Linked DNA regions of Homo sapiens: region 2 is linked to region 1. Evidence: promoter capture Hi-C in 16 types of primary human blood cells and fetal thymus (Javierre and others, 2016). All regions are on one chromosome and are shown on one strand. Each heading gives the region's core, a stretch centred on a gene start or on the middle of the fragment in contact. The rest is flanking DNA. Distances are from core to core; before and after follow the strand shown. Region 1 holds the start of TAL2 (TAL bHLH transcription factor 2). Region 2 overlaps TMEM38B (transmembrane protein 38B).

The links. Contacts are between HindIII fragments. The CHiCAGO score rates a contact against its expected background, and 5 or more counts as called.
Region 2: a fragment that was not itself captured here is called in contact with the fragment with the promoter of TAL2 in region 1 in 1 of 17 cell types (naive B cells); the score reaches 5.2 in naive B cells.

The regions. Positions count from the first base shown.
Region 1 is chr9:105,659,490-105,667,248 of GRCh38, reverse strand. TAL2 (TAL bHLH transcription factor 2) reads right to left here and starts at 4,792. Exons shown (of 1, transcript NM_005421.3): 1 at 4,125-4,792. The coding sequence starts at 4,752. The coding sequence ends at 4,426. RefSeq lists an enhancer at 4,676-4,765. The HindIII fragment of the contact is 4,889 bases long and covers 2,862-7,750 here.
Region 2 is chr9:105,714,321-105,722,079 of GRCh38, reverse strand. TMEM38B (transmembrane protein 38B) reads right to left here. Exons shown (of 6, transcript NM_018112.3): 3 at 359-543. Among named protein-coding and RNA genes, the nearest start is that of TMEM38B, 24 kb to the right of the region's middle. RefSeq lists a silencer at 7,706-7,759. The HindIII fragment of the contact is 1,827 bases long and covers 1,147-2,973 here.

The DNA.
Region 1 (7,759 bases), core at 3,543-6,042:
TGATGGTGCCACTGCACTCCAACCAGAAGAAAAAAGATCAGCCATGTGGAATTTGGCACAGGTGGAGGGGCGAGTAGAACAAGTGAGAATGGGAGCATTAATCCAAGCCTTTGGCATCACAGGAGTAAAGTCAGGAGTAAAAAAGAGTGGGCATGTTTGGGGATCTTTAACTAAAGTAGTTTCATTGGCATGTACCATACGTATAGGCATTGTGGAGGGTGAAGGGAAGGACACACTGGGGCCAGGATGCAGAGGGCCTGGTTTGCTAGGGTATGGCATTTGTCTCAATCTGGTAGACAAGATACTGAAGGTTTTGTAGCAGAGAAGTGATATGACTACAGCCGTGATTTGAGAAGGACCATTAGGGAGCTGTGAGAAAAGTGACATGAAGAGGAAGAAGACTGATTTCAGGTGACGCTGGGTTTTTTTCTATACTAAAGACCACGGGGGAGCTGGTGGGGGGTGGGGGGACATGTCAAAGCCAGGATAGTGGCTGTGAAGATGAGAGAAGGGGTGAATGTGCTTAGTAAATTTATGAAATTTTTCTTTAAATGAACAATTTGTTTTCTTAAATAATTTATTTGCAATAAATTAACAGTTAAATAACAAATTATAGTCAATGGTTAAAAACTCACAAAACATCAACAAATAAAATCTTTGGTTGATATATCTAATCACATTTTACAAAGTACAATAATTTAATTTCAGTAAAAAGACATATGAAGAAGATTACTGAATGCTATTGAAAAGAGACAAGCATAATGATAAGGTGCTTTTTCATTTTCAATCCTAAAATACTTGGTGGCTGAACAGGGCCGTAGAAAGGCTAAACACAGTGTCTGCAGACCTAGATCTGGGTCCTGGGTTTCCACTAACTGCGCATGTGGCCTCTGGACAGTCACTTCAAATCCCTCTAGAACCATTTTCTCCTCTGTAAAATGAGGGACCGGCATTAGACCATCAAATGATCTATATGAATCAATGGACCTGTTTATACCTGGTTTCTAGAAGTTTCTAGTGGTGTCCATAGCAGACTAAACACTTTTTTTTTTTTTTTTTGAGACAGAGTCTTGCTGTCTCCTGGAGTGCAGTGGTGCGATCTCAGCTCACTGCAAACACCACCTCTCAGGTTTAAGCGATTCTTTCTCCTCAGCCTCCTGAGTAGCTGGGATTACAGGCGCCCGCCACCACACCCAGCTAATTGTTTTAGAGATGGGGTTTCAACATGCTGGCTGGGCTGGTCTCGAACTCCTGGCCTCAGGTGATCCTCCCGCCTCAGCCTCCCAAAGTGCTGGGATTACAGGTGTGAACCACGGTGCCCACCGCCAAACACTTTTGTTTAAGTTACAGAGTAGCATAGGTTATATAATCTGTTCAAACTATTCTGTTGGGCTCAAATGATCTATAAACAGATGTACCATCCAGTGAACCGTAATGTTTTTGAATCATAAATTCTTGCTACTGCCATCACCAAGCCTTAAGTATAGGACACCAGAGAAGACTCTAGAATGATTTTTGAGTTAGCTTCCAGTCTCATGGATACCTTGTCAAGGTTTTGGTCCACAATTGACTATATTTTCTTTTTGGCAGACACCTTCTTTTTTTTCTCTTTCCTTCTTTCTTTTCTTTGAGACAGGTATCACTATGTTGCTCAGGCTGGCCTCAAACTCCTAATATCAAGCAGTCCTCCCGCCTCAGCCTCCCGAGTAGCTGGGAGTACAGGCACATGCCAACACACCTGACGTAACAGTCACTTTAACCAAACATGACTTGGTGTACAAAAATGCAAGCAGGCAAAAGAAATCATTTAGGAGGTGAAATACATAAATTAATGATTTAAAGTTTCATTTATTAATTATAGGATTATTTGCAAATTTCTTTAAATAATTTCCCCCTCACATAGTTTAATGAGAACTTGATCTCCTCATGACTTTTCAGGAGCACTCTGTTACATTTCAGCGGAAAGGCCCTCTTTGTCGAAGATCATGGCCCCCTTTGACACAGATCATGGCCCCAGCAGCAGAAAAGTGGACTCATCCTGGGTAGAGGGGCAAAATCCTATATCTAGGCAAAGAGATACTCTGTGCTTTCCTTGGCAACATGTTGAAACAAAGCTAATATAAAAATACCGTCAAAAGTGTTATTTTGATTTAATTTCAGATGAGAGAGTAAGTGATGTTAATTGACAACTGTCATCAAAACTTTGAAATGTACTATCACCTGGTAATTTGGGGGTAAGCTTGTGTCCACATAAGCTAGTGAGAAAAAAAAAAATGCACATTCAGGAAAACCATTTTGATCTCTTTTCTTATGTGTTTCCCTGGACTATGCTGGGTCCGTGGGGAAGTTTACCAAATACAGTTTAAATAAAGGGCCTAGAAGGAAATCTTACTGGTTCAAATAAATGCATTGTGTTACAAGTGTGAATGCTGTATAGAATTTAATGACATAATGACCTTTCTATTTCGGGAGAATGAGATTGTAAGAGTTTCATCCAGCTTTCTTCCAATCACCAGACCAAGGAGGCTCATTTCAACCTTTCACAAGTAAAACACCTTATTTCTGAGTGGCAGGAAATTTAAATTCCTCTGTTGTGTATATACTGGAAATCCCTAATCTCAAATCCATCAGTTTCCTACGTATGGTTTAGAAGGTTTTAAAACCAATGTACTGTCAAGAACTTTGGGGAAGGAAAATGTCCCAGAGATAATCAAATAACATTATTTGTATTCCAGGTTCAACTATAGGATTTATCTTTGACTCCAAGTATCATCAGGGTGGCATATGGTGATGGATTCTGCCAGATCCGTGCTATTTCACTGACTTGTTGGGTACCAGGCCTCCAAGCCTAAGACTAAGCTTGATCACCCTTGATCAAATACATCTCATTTTTCAAAACCAACTTTAAAATCTGTTCTGAGGGAAGCATATGCTACTCATTCATCTGAGATCTATTATGAGAAACTTTTTTCTTTTTGAGAAGGCTAATGTGCCATAGCAAAGAAGACAAATTACAAATTCATTAGTTCATTAGCGTCTGGTATTACATTTCTATTGTTTACTCTAAATGTTTTGTTTAAACTAAGCTCTCTGTTAAATGAGTCATTAAATGGTAATGTTTGGATTTTCATAATTATAATTGAATTTTACAGGTCTTGAATCAGCAGGAGTTCAGGCTGAGTGAAACGTTTTAATGCATGACATGTGAAGTGAAGGCTTTAGCTAACTTATTTCAGCTAACTGTTTTTCGTAAGAAAACTACGAGCCCTAACACATAAATTATCCAGTTGTTTCGTCTCACAGATATAATCCACTATTTGCCTTTAGAAGTCACATATGTACAAATGGCTCAGCACAAGTAGCACCTCACACTTCTACAGAGTTGAAAGGACACAGAACTGTTCCACATATCTCTGCTGCATTCCTGTAATCCCCACACCTTAGTGGGCGGGGGGCGGGGGGTGTCTTTTCTCCACAGATTTTTCCCGCAAGTCTCCCAGGTTGGTTTCTGCAGGGGTTATCTTTCTATTCATCAATCTTAAGATTTATTTTGTTCACCTTTGATCAAATGCATCTCATTTTTCAAAACCATCTTTAAAATCTGTTCTGAGGGAAGCATATGCTGCTACTCATTCATCTGAGATCCATTATGAGAAAACTTTTTTTGTTATTGTTGTTTTTGAGAGCGAGTCTTGCTCCGTTGCCCAGGCTGGAGTGCAGTGGCATGATCTTGGGTCACTGCAACCTCCCCCTCCCGGGTTCAAGCGATTCTCGTGCCTCAGCCTCCTGAGTATCTGGGATTACAGGTGCGCACTACCACACCTGGCTCATTTTTGTATTTGTAGTAGAGACGGAGTTTCACCATGTTGGCCAGGCTGGTCTCAAACTCCTGACCTCAGGTGATCTGCCCATCTCAGCCTCCCAAAGTGCTGGGATTACAGGCGTGAGCCACCGTGCCCGGCCCATCAATCTTAAGATTTATTTTGTTCACCCTTGATCAAATCTCATTTTTCAAAACAAACTTTAAAATATGTTCTGAAGGAAGCATATTCTACTTATTCATCTGAGATCCATTATGAGAAAACTTCTTTCTTATAACTGAAGACATTGAGTATAAACAGTGATTTTCAGCCTTTTTTTTTTTTTATTTAGAATTTTTTCTCCAAAAGTCTTATGCAGAACCTGGATTTAAAATAGGCAGAGGTAGGCCGCTCTACCTGACATCCCTGGGGGGTGGCGGCCCACAAGTGACATTCCTCATGGCTTCTTTCAGCTCCCTGCAGCTGTCTCTGAGCCACCTCCCAGGAAGCTAGAATTCATGCTTCACGAGTTATCATCAGGTCAACTCTGGAACATGCAAAAGTCTGTCCACAGGCAGTGATTTCTGGGCAAGTGCTGCCCTGGGAGATGACAGCCAGAGCCACACTAAGGAATGTGGTGGCTTGGACCAGGTGAAGGAACCTGGTAGTTCTCAAGCAGAGTTCTGTCCTCCAGGCCTGGCAGGTGGGGTCCTTGAGGGAAGAGCCCCAGAATGTTCCCCTGAGCAGCCACTCCCGTTTGTTGCAGGCTTTGCTCCCCCAAGACCTTGACCAAGAAGTTGATATACCTCATTGCCAGGCGAAGCGTTTCATTTTTGCTCAGCTTTTTGTCTGGAGGGTGAGTGGGGATGAGCTTCCTCAGCTTGGCAAAGGCGCTGTTGACATTCTGCTGCCTCCACCGCTCCCTGGTATTTGTGAAGATCTTCCTGGTCATGTTTGAGTTCCTGAGATGGAAAGAGAAAGGGCCCTCAGGGCCAATATCTTATAAGAGGCCTGATTGGTATCACATGTCCTGCCAAGAACCTGAGATGTTAGATTTTCTCGACTCAGAGCTTACGAGATTCATTTCCTCATTTTCAGGTTTTTAAAAAAGAAAACAACCCCACAGGGACACAAACATATGCCTCTCACCTTTCGAGGCATCAGTGACGCTATGAATTATGCATAATTTCTTTTTTTAACTTAAAAACAACAGGGGAAGGTAAGAACAACACCCTTCAGCTTTTTCTCTCTGGCTGTTTTGAAGCCTCCAGTTGAAAGATTGCTTTGTCCCAATACTCCTGTTTCTTCCTTTATAACCAACTCTTCCTAATTGTTCAGAATCAGGTACAATATTGATTGAGTTTATGTATAAATGCAACATATGTTTGGCCAATAGAAAGTTTGTTTTTTGTTTTTTGTTTTTTTCTTTTTTTGAGATGGAGTCTCACTCTGTCACCCAGACTGGAGTGCCATGGCACCATCTCAGCTCACTGCAACCTCCAGCTCCCGGGTTTGAGCGATTCTCCTGCCTCAGTCTCCGGAGTAGCTGGGACTATAGGCGCCTGCCACCACGCCTGGCTAGTTTTTATATTTTTAGTAGAGATGGGGTTTCACCATGTTGGCCAGCCTGGTCTTAAACTCCTGATCTCAGGTGATCCACCCGCCTCGGCCTCCCAAAGTGCTGGGATTGCAAGCGTGAGTCACGATGCCCGGCCACCAACAGAGAGTTGAATATGAATCAACAATGTATTATCAGAATGAAGTAAAAAAAGAAAATGATTGTAGGTTTCGTTAATAAAATAAAATTTGGAATAGAGAAGACAATACAGCTCTCTTGTTAGCTGGCAGACCTCACCTGGAGGATTCAGCCCCTCTCTGTAAGAACTAAAATATCCAGACTGGACTATATTTAGAGGAGCAGGAACAGAATGATGAAGGGTCTTGAAACCCTGGTGTATGAAGAACAGAAGTGGGGGTATTTAGTCTCGCAAAAATGAAAAGACAAGGGGCAGGTGGGAGTGGTGATTTGGCGTGGATTCTGTAGAAGATACTTGGGCCTCTTTGGGGCTGCATTGGATGACCTTTCCAAGTCTAGGAGAGTGGTTTATCATCACATACTGCCGAGCATTATGCAGGCATTTTTCACTCTTAGAGGCAAGAGTCCCTTTTTTCAAGTGGCTTGGATTAACATGTGCTAATAGGAACACTTGGGAGGCACTGGCAAACAAGCCCAAGTCTAGCCCCAGGCAGTTTGATGTTCTTGGCTTACTGCTATTGGTCTGCTGCCTGCTCCACGCTCAGCTCCTCTGGGCACTGGGCCCTTTCTAGTTCCTCCGAAGACTCATGAATATTCCCAACTCTACACTTTCGCACATTGTCATTTTCTGTTCCTTGAATTTCCTCCCCACTCTCTACTTACCTATTTCTTTAAACAGCAGGTGAGATCTTCCCTTTCCAAGCCCTGACTCTACAGGAGTCTTCACGTAACTCAGCCATCAGTGGAACCATATGCATGGTGGTCAAGAGCACAGGCTCCAAGGCCAGAACCCCGGTTTGGCTGTTGGTTATACTCACCCTAGCTGTGTGACGAGCAATCTACTTAACCTCTCTGTGTTTCAAATGCCTCATAAGTAAAGATCAGTACAGGAGTACTGCATCATTGTGAGGACACATGAAATGATACACATAAAGCACCTTAGCTCAGTGTCTAGTGCATATTAAAGGCTCAATAAATATTTAATGATTGGCGGGACTCAGTGGCTCACACCCGTAATCCCAGCGCTTTGGGAGGCCAAGTCGGGGGGGGGGGGGGTGGCAGATCACCTGAGGTCAGGAGTTCACGACCAGCCTGGCCAACACGGTGAAATTCCATCTCTACTAAAAATGCAAAAATTAGCAGGGCGTGGTGGCGCACGCCTGTAGTCAGAGCCAATCAGGAGGTTGAGACAGAAGAATCACTTGAACCCAGGAGGTGGAGGTTGCAGTGAGTCGAGATCGCGTCATTGCACTCCAGCCTGGGCGACAGAGCGAGACTGTCTCAAAAAAAAAAAGAAAATTAATGATTGCAATTATTATCTTTAAAAATAAAACAGTGAAAAATAAATGTTGTAATTTATCATTTTCTTCCTAATGAAGAAGTTATATGCATTAGAGAAGGTCTTAGCTTTGTTTATGTGCTCTTTTGATTCACTTTACAGGAATATATGGGTGTGTGTGTGTGTGTGTGTGTGTGTGTGTGTGTGTGTGTGTGTGTAGAGCAAAAACCTGGAAGGATTCAGGCCAAACTGTCAACAGTGGTTCATTGGGAGAGGACAGTAGATTGGGAGAAGAGAAAAAAAGGAGACTTGTGGTGTTTTATTCTTTTTTTGGTATTGTTTTATGTGTACATATATAAAATCTTTTTTTTTTTTTTTTTTGAGACAGAGTTTCGCTCTGTCGCCAGGCTGGAGTGCAGTGGCACGATCTCAGCTCGCTGCAACCTCTGCCTCCTGGGTTCAAGTGATTCTCCTGCCTCAGCCTCCCTAGTAGCTGGGACTATAGGCACACGCCACTGGGCCCAGCTAATTTTTTTGTATTTTTAGTAGAGAAGGGTTTTCACCATGTTGGCCAGGATGGTTTCAATCTCCTGACCTCATGATCTGCCCGCCTCAGTCTCCCAAAGGGCTGGGATTACAGGCGAACCACTGCACCAACTGCATTTTTCAATCATCTCTATGCCCCCCGGGACATTTCCCCATCCTAGTTCCTTTCTTGTTGCCTTTCCTGCTTGTGTCTGGGTTGGGGAGTCCAGTGCTGTGCTAAGAATTCATGGTGAACTGGAAGCACCGCAGCCCGAGGTCACCACATGGCTTCCGGCTCCCCGCACTGTCCTCTTGCACCCACATCCTCTCTCCGTGGAGACATTCCTAGTTGGACCCATGGACCAATTACAATACTATGCACTCCAAGCTTTGGGACCA
Region 2 (7,759 bases), core at 811-3,310, 58 kb before region 1:
AGAAAAGACAGAGCAATATTTTTTATTCATATGTACCACATAATTTCTTATGTAAACTTATTTTATTTACAGAGGCACTATACCTTAATTAACTATAAATCTTTCTGGTTCTGGGGATCTTAATCAAACCAATCATAAAAATTTTCTATCATAAGACACTCAGGCTCAAAATAATGGCTTAGGACTAGTACTAGTTTTGAATTAACTTTACCAGCCAACAGAAACAAGGTTTTTACCTTCCAAAAAGTCTCTGTTATTAAAGTATGTGATCCATTAATGTAACTAGAGAATTGTTCAGTAATGGTATTAATAATACACCAACAACAGAATATTTATGAACACATATTGTCAATATTACCTCGGGCCCATCCAATAGCTATCATGACTATCCAGCCATTTTTGTAATAGCTATTAGCATGTGTGACTCCACCTACTATTTTCCAAGTTCTGGTCACTTCCTTCATTCCCGAAGCCAGTAGTTGAACAGGTAGATATGAATAGCCCTGGGAAACTAGGTCATGCGGGCAAAAAAATGTAATATACCTGAAAATGAAATGTAAACATTTTAATATATTAATGGAATCAGAAGAACAGAAATTAAAATCTAACCTAACAGCAACAACAATTTGGCAAAACACAACAAATGGAATTTTCCATATAAACATTTAACTTGATTTCAATAAAAGCACAACTTGGGTAGGGAGGCAATTTTTTAAATCACATGAAACATATGTCATCTGCCAAAAAGTCATGATCAGAGAAGAATGTAAACTGTGGACTTCTGAATACTTTATAGATATATGAAATATTTAGTGAGCTCTTAATTTGTGCCTATATTGTTCTAGAAGCTAAGTGCTGAATCCAGTAACAAAACAAATGTATAATCATTTCCAGGGGTAGGAACTCCTACACAGTGTCTTTGTCCTCTGGGAAAATGAATTAGAGAAAGGGTCCTTTGGTAAAAGCAAGGGCTACATTTCAATCTCAAATAACATATTCACCTGTGCCCCACTGTGCAGGACATAAACTACAATCTATACAAAGGTACATGACGGCTCACAAGGAGGCAGATTTGTATTAAGGAAAAACACATTTCTATACAGCTGAAAGAATATGAAGCTGTTCTTTAATTTAGTTCACTAAGCTTAAGTTTTAACCAAATTAAACTGTGATTAAAAATAATTCATCCCATCTATGGTAAATTATTTTTTTAAACTTCATTTGTTCTAAGCATCTATTCGAATACTAGCAGTAAGATCTATTGGAAAACATACTGCTTTTTTCTCTCCATTCTCCAAATACTCTGGCTGACAATTTTGTGCTTAAAGTAGAACATATCTTCTTTCTAACGGGGTAAATAAAAGACATGGCATGAAAGAATATCATATCTCTTTTAAAAGAAGCTATTAATCTTATTGCAATTCACGATTTATAAAGTCAGAATTCTTCAATGTTCATGAAATATGAAATGTTTGCCAAAATACTGCTTCAGCGACTAAATAAAAAGATACAATAGTCTGTTTAGCCTAAAGCACCCTTTCTTCTTCATCTCCACTTACCAATTCCTTCCTACTCTTCAAGGTGCCACTCAAATATTACCATAGTCATTGACTTTGGGATTCTTATTTTATTTTAACATCTCAGCTCAGACTACATTCTGATGGCTCTGTAAAACTAAACCAATTGGTTCCTATGCCTAAAAATAGCTCTTTATACATTATTCTTTATAATATAAAATAAAGGCTATAATGCTCATAATGAACTACAATAGTTCTTAGATGACAGAAATCATTCATCTTGTTACCCTCTAACCTAAAACTCAGCATGATGAAAAGTAGCCCTGAATTAAATCATTTATTAGCAGTCAATCTGGATTCAAAATCCAAAATACAGCAAATCAAAGCATTAGTTGATAATTAAAGAGTTTGAGAAAAAAGAATAAACTATCTGAGAGTAGTAAAAAGATTTCTGAAGACCATTTGTATGGCTTTAAAATTGTACATGTTCTATAAGATTTTTAAAAACAACTAGTATGATTTAAAATTTTTACACATTCATAGAAAATTTGAAAGTCTGTATAGTTCTCTCTTTGAATATAGAACTAATTTCTAAGAAGTTGGTTAGGTAATGGGGGAAAAGTATACACACTTAATTTTTAAATGTATTTTTATATCTATTATAGATTACATTAAGAAAGGGGGATTTGTTTTCACCTTAGCAGTAATGAGCACCCAAAAGTAAAATATTCAGAAAAACAACCAAAAGAATGTTATAAATGACCCATTTTCATTCCTTACACTAAGCCTAACTTTAACGTGAGTTAAAAACCTATACTATTACAATAGCAATCTTGGACTTCGGTATTCAACTATGTGACATTATAGTATAAGACATTAAAAAATTTGCAATTATTGCAACTCTTCTATTTAATCAGATCTTTCTAAAGCACACCTACAATAAGTTAACATTTTAAACAAAAAAACTGTTTTCATTTGAGAGTTAAGTAGCCACAGGGCAAAAGAACAATTGTTTATTGTGCTCAGTAGACTTACAAGTAAACATATCAGACCAATGGCACACTCAACAACCATTCCTGCTCTATAACAAATTAGCCTTTAAAATTCTTTTAATAAATCCCTCAACCAACACTTATTAGGTAATAACCTTGTAACCCTTCTGTAAACATAATTTCACCTTTAACTAAAATTATCATATCCAAGGTAACTTTAACTTGTAAAGTGCCTAAAGAAAACATATCACAAAATGAGAGAGGAAGTGGAATGAGAAAACAACTGACTTCTCATACATTTAACTATAGGTTAAGTTAATGGAGAGAAAAAATAACGAAAGAATAAACGTCTCAAACGGGATACAAACAAGACCCTAGGCCACAAACAAATGAAATCTCAACCAGTTTAAGAAAAAGTGAGAGTAGAATTTAGGTATATACAAAAAGTTAGGCAGAGAGAAGCTTCCCAGGCTTAGTCATTGAGAACTCTGTTTTCACTCTACTATCAATTCCACTCCTCTATCGAAGACAGTATCACTTAACTAAGACAAAACACAATGATAAACTAAATACAGTTCATGTTAGTCCAGTATGACAGCTTTGTTCTTGCTCTTATCACTCCAACAAATTGAAAATTTTTTGTACATGCTTTGAAAAATACAGACAGAATGACAACTATAAAATGATACCTTTTGTTGTATTTTTCCTCATCTAAATGTAGTCTCGGTTACACAAATGTGCCATATATAAGTAATTGATACTTGGAATTTTAAGAAAAATATATAGGAAACAAAAATAAACATACTAAAAAATTATAAAATATTTATTTCCCCCGGGAACAGCTTTTCAAAACAAATAAAACCTATGAAAGTGTACACAATACTATGACATACCAAGTTATTGTTTCTCTTTGCCAGTAGATGGTGCTAATTTCCAGATGTATACACTATGAGCTACTGTACTAAAGATTACCTTGCTTGCTTGTTTAAAAACATTTCTAACATCATTTTATCTCTCAAATTAAAATCAAATGGGCAGGGCACGGTGGCTCATGCCTGTAATCCCAGCACTTTGGGAGGCCAAGGCGGGAGGATCACGAGGTGAAGACTTCAAGATTAGCCTGACAAAACATGGAGAAACCCCATCTCTACTAAAAAACACAAAAATTAGCCAGCATGGTGGCGGGCGCCTATAATCCCAGCTACTTGGGAGGCTGAGGCAGGAGAATCACTTGAACCCAGGAGGCGGAGGTTGCAGTGAGCTGAGATCGTGCCATTGCACTCCAGCCTAGGCAACAAGAGCAAGACCCCATCTAAAAAAAAAAAAAAACCTCAAATGAAGCAAAGATTACAAATTTGTTCTAAATATGAAAACTTTGAAAAAGAAAATAGTAAAATACACTATGTCTTTAAGCCATAATTTTTTTATATTTAAGGATCTCTGAAGACAAAGGTAACATTCCTGTTTCCAGAGTACAAACCAATATACTGTGTAAGTACAGATTAAAGGACTAGCTGCGCCAGGTTGGAATCCCAGCTTCAACTACTCAGTAACTGTGACACCTTAGGCAAGTTATTAACCTCTCCATGCCTCAATTACATGCTTTTTAACACGTAATTGAATAAAATAATACCTACGTCTCAGGGTTCTTGTCAGGTTTAAGTGAGATAACATAAGCAAAACACTTAGAAAACTGGGACACAGTAAATGCTATGTAATTGCTATTATTGTTGTTTTGTAATGCCTAACTAAACACCTAGAACCAAGAAAACTGCCATCAACAAAAGAATAAAATATAGATATTAATATAATGGACTATACAGCAGGGGGAAGTTATGTTCTACAGCTACATACAAACAAACAGATGAATCTTAGTAACATAATGTTGAATACAAATCTTAGCTTTTTTATGTAGTTTTAGCATATGTTTATATCCATAAACAATATAGTTGTTAAAGGTTTTATAAATAGAATCATATGTATTTTTCTGTTTAAGCTCTATTCCTGAGATTTATTCTTATTGTGTGTGGTTATAATTACTAATTTTCACCAGTATTTACCGTAACAGAATTAATATGCCATAATTTATCCATCATTTCTCTGCTGACAGAGAGTTGTTCCCAGTTTTCCCTATTATAAATAGTGTTTTAAAAACATTCTTGCACATATCTGTACATAAGCAACATTTTCTCTTGTTATATGCTTAAAGATTTATTTTAGGAAAGTGATTCTTAAACTCTATTAGATAATGCCATTATATTAATATCCATATTTTTTCTTCTGTGGATGAGCATTTTTATTGCTTCTAGTTATTTCTCTGGGCATCATGAAGTTGAAGATAATGGTTACTTCTGAAGGCGGAAGAAAAGAGATGGAATGGGAGGAGACCATAGAAGTGACATAAAAACTAATGGTAAGGGTTCTGAGAAGATGGTAGTGGCTGCATACATTCTGATACTCTTCAAATTCCCATAAAAACATACAGAGAAACAAGACAGGAAAACCAAAATCCCACGCACAATAGTTGACTCTTCAACAACATGGGGGTTAGGGATGCCAACCCCTATGCAATCAAAACACCACATATAACTTCTGACTCTCCAAAATCTGACTATTAATACCTTACTGTTGACCACAAGCCTCACCAATACTATGAACAGGTGATTAACAGATTTTTTTATGTCATATGTATTACATAATTTTTTCACTGTCACCTACCTGTCCCTGATGTATTCTTATAATTAAGCCACAGAAAATGTTTAAGAAAATGTTAAGGAAGAGATAATGTATTTATTATTCATTAAGTGGAAGTGGATCATCATGAAAGTCTCCATTCTTCTTCATCTTCACAAAGAGTAGGCTGACGAGGAGGAGGGATTGGTCTTGCTATCTCAGGGGTGGCAGAGGCAGAAGAAAATCTGCACATAAGTGGATTCACACAGTTCAAATTCATGTTGTTCAAGGGTCAACTGTACTTACAACAAAACTATGTGACAAGGTATCCCCTCAAACCCCAAAATGCAAGTGGGTAGAGAAAAATCACTAACACCCACAACACTGTACTACTTGGCAGAAAGAAGAAAGCAACAAGGTGGCAACTGATGAACTTAAGACCAAAATCATACCAAAATAGCTAACGGGTATTCACTGGAAAGCAGAGCAGACTCATTTGGAAATATACACACACACACACACAAATGCTACAACTGACAGAGGTTCTGGCATCTCTAATACCAGATAAGACAAAGAGCCCATGATAAGAAGTTCTGAAAGGGTTGGAACAATTTAGTCCCTCTGAGCTTTAAGCTTTTGAAACTGACCCACCAGGGCTCTCTTCTATAATAAGCCCCACACTGAGAAGAAACTGAGAAGAATCAAGCCTGAGCTCCCCACACTGAGAAGAAACTGGGAAGAATCAAACCTGAGCAGAATAGAACAGAAGAAAGAAAAGGTCCACACCAAGCCAAGGAAGGTAAGAGATCCAAGAAATATCAAAAAGCAGGTCCTCATCTTTTGAACACTACATAAAAACAAAAGCAGGAGCTCTGTGAAGTCAAGAAAATATTTCCACCACATTCTGCAAGTTTATGAAAGCCAATTTCATATAAAAATGACCAAAAGTATCAAGATCAAATCCTATACAAAGTTATTACAAGAAAAAAAATAAGCAGAATAAATCCCTATAGACAATGTAAGCACTCAGGAAAATGTGCAAACAAAACAGATCAAAACTGTAAACTATGATTTCAAAACAAGCTAAAGACATTAAGAAAGTCATGTAAGACATAAAAGAACACACATAAGAATAAGCAAAACTGAGAACCAAAGATTCAACACTCAGGAGAGAGTAAGAGATAAAAGAAAAAAAATCATTTCCAAAATAAAAAACAAACCAGAAAACACAAAGAGAAACATAACAGATAGTGTCTTCAAAGAAACAGCAGGAGAAAAGAGAAAAGAGAAAAACAAGTGAAAAGCAGGTTAATTTTTTTAGAAATATAGATTTTTAAAAAATCCTTGAAGAAAGGCAAAGAAGAGCCAATATACCAATAATAAGAGTTCTTAACCAATGCAAAGGAAGAATACAAATACTAGTATTACTTTCTCAATTAAAAAAAAGTGTAGGTACCAAAAAGAACACACCATGTAGAAGAGAATACTGTCGCACAACAACGAACACCAAGATATTTTATTTAAATGACTGGACCTTAATGAAAAAATAAATCTTTAGGGATCTAGAAAAAAAAGATCTTAAAAGAGAAAGAAAATTAAAAGATCACCAGACTTTCACAGCAGTGCTTTAAGCCAGAAGAAAATGGAGTAATATATTTAAAATGACAGTGTAAAATAGTACATTTATTGTTAAAATGGGAGAATTAATAGAACATATGCAATAATAATTTTCTGTAATCATTTCTTTGGTAGTCTTTAACATTACTCTAAGACTACTGTGTGCATAATACAGAAAAAAATCAGTAATGTTAGAATATATTAATTTAATCACATCCTATGTCCTTAAGAAACCAAATTCTTAGGGTGGAAGAAAGGAGATATATATGTAACAGGGAAAAAATTTTAAAAAGCTATATGGTCCTGAATTTGAATTAGAAATATGAATATAAAGTCATGAGTTATTTTATCTTCATTTTTCCTAGCTCTGTTCACTAAAAAGGCCTAGACATAATGATCAACCCAATAACAGTGAGCGTCTCTAGCACTCAAATTGTGGTCTTGAAATGCCATTGCTCACCAAAAGAAACCAGAACGTCTTAGAGAAACAAGTGATTCCAGAAGAAAAGCACACAATGAATCTTACAACACCAGGTAGAAAGTAAACTAATTCAAAATCTGTCTCAGGAGTCTATCTGAAGAGGCTTCCACTGGCTGAAGATGGGATAATTTGAGCTTCGATATGAAAATAACTGAAATTTTATTGAAACCAATGAAATATAGTTAGTCCATGAGCTCATAATTATTTTATTTAAGCTGGTATCTTTAGACAATGACAGACATCCAGTTCATTATACTGAAAACTGGTAAATGAAGGGAAAGAACCAAGCATTACCTTTCCAGTATGAACTGTATAGCTGGTTTCCAAATAGATGATAAACAGGAAGTATCTATTTGTATTTTGGGATCTTTGGGATGTCACTTTTCTGGGCAGAAACCTTTGTGGCTGGTGGCACCCTTGACCAAGCTCTTGTCCTGCGTCCAGGAAGAATGAAGTATTCAGACAAGTGGAGGGTGAGC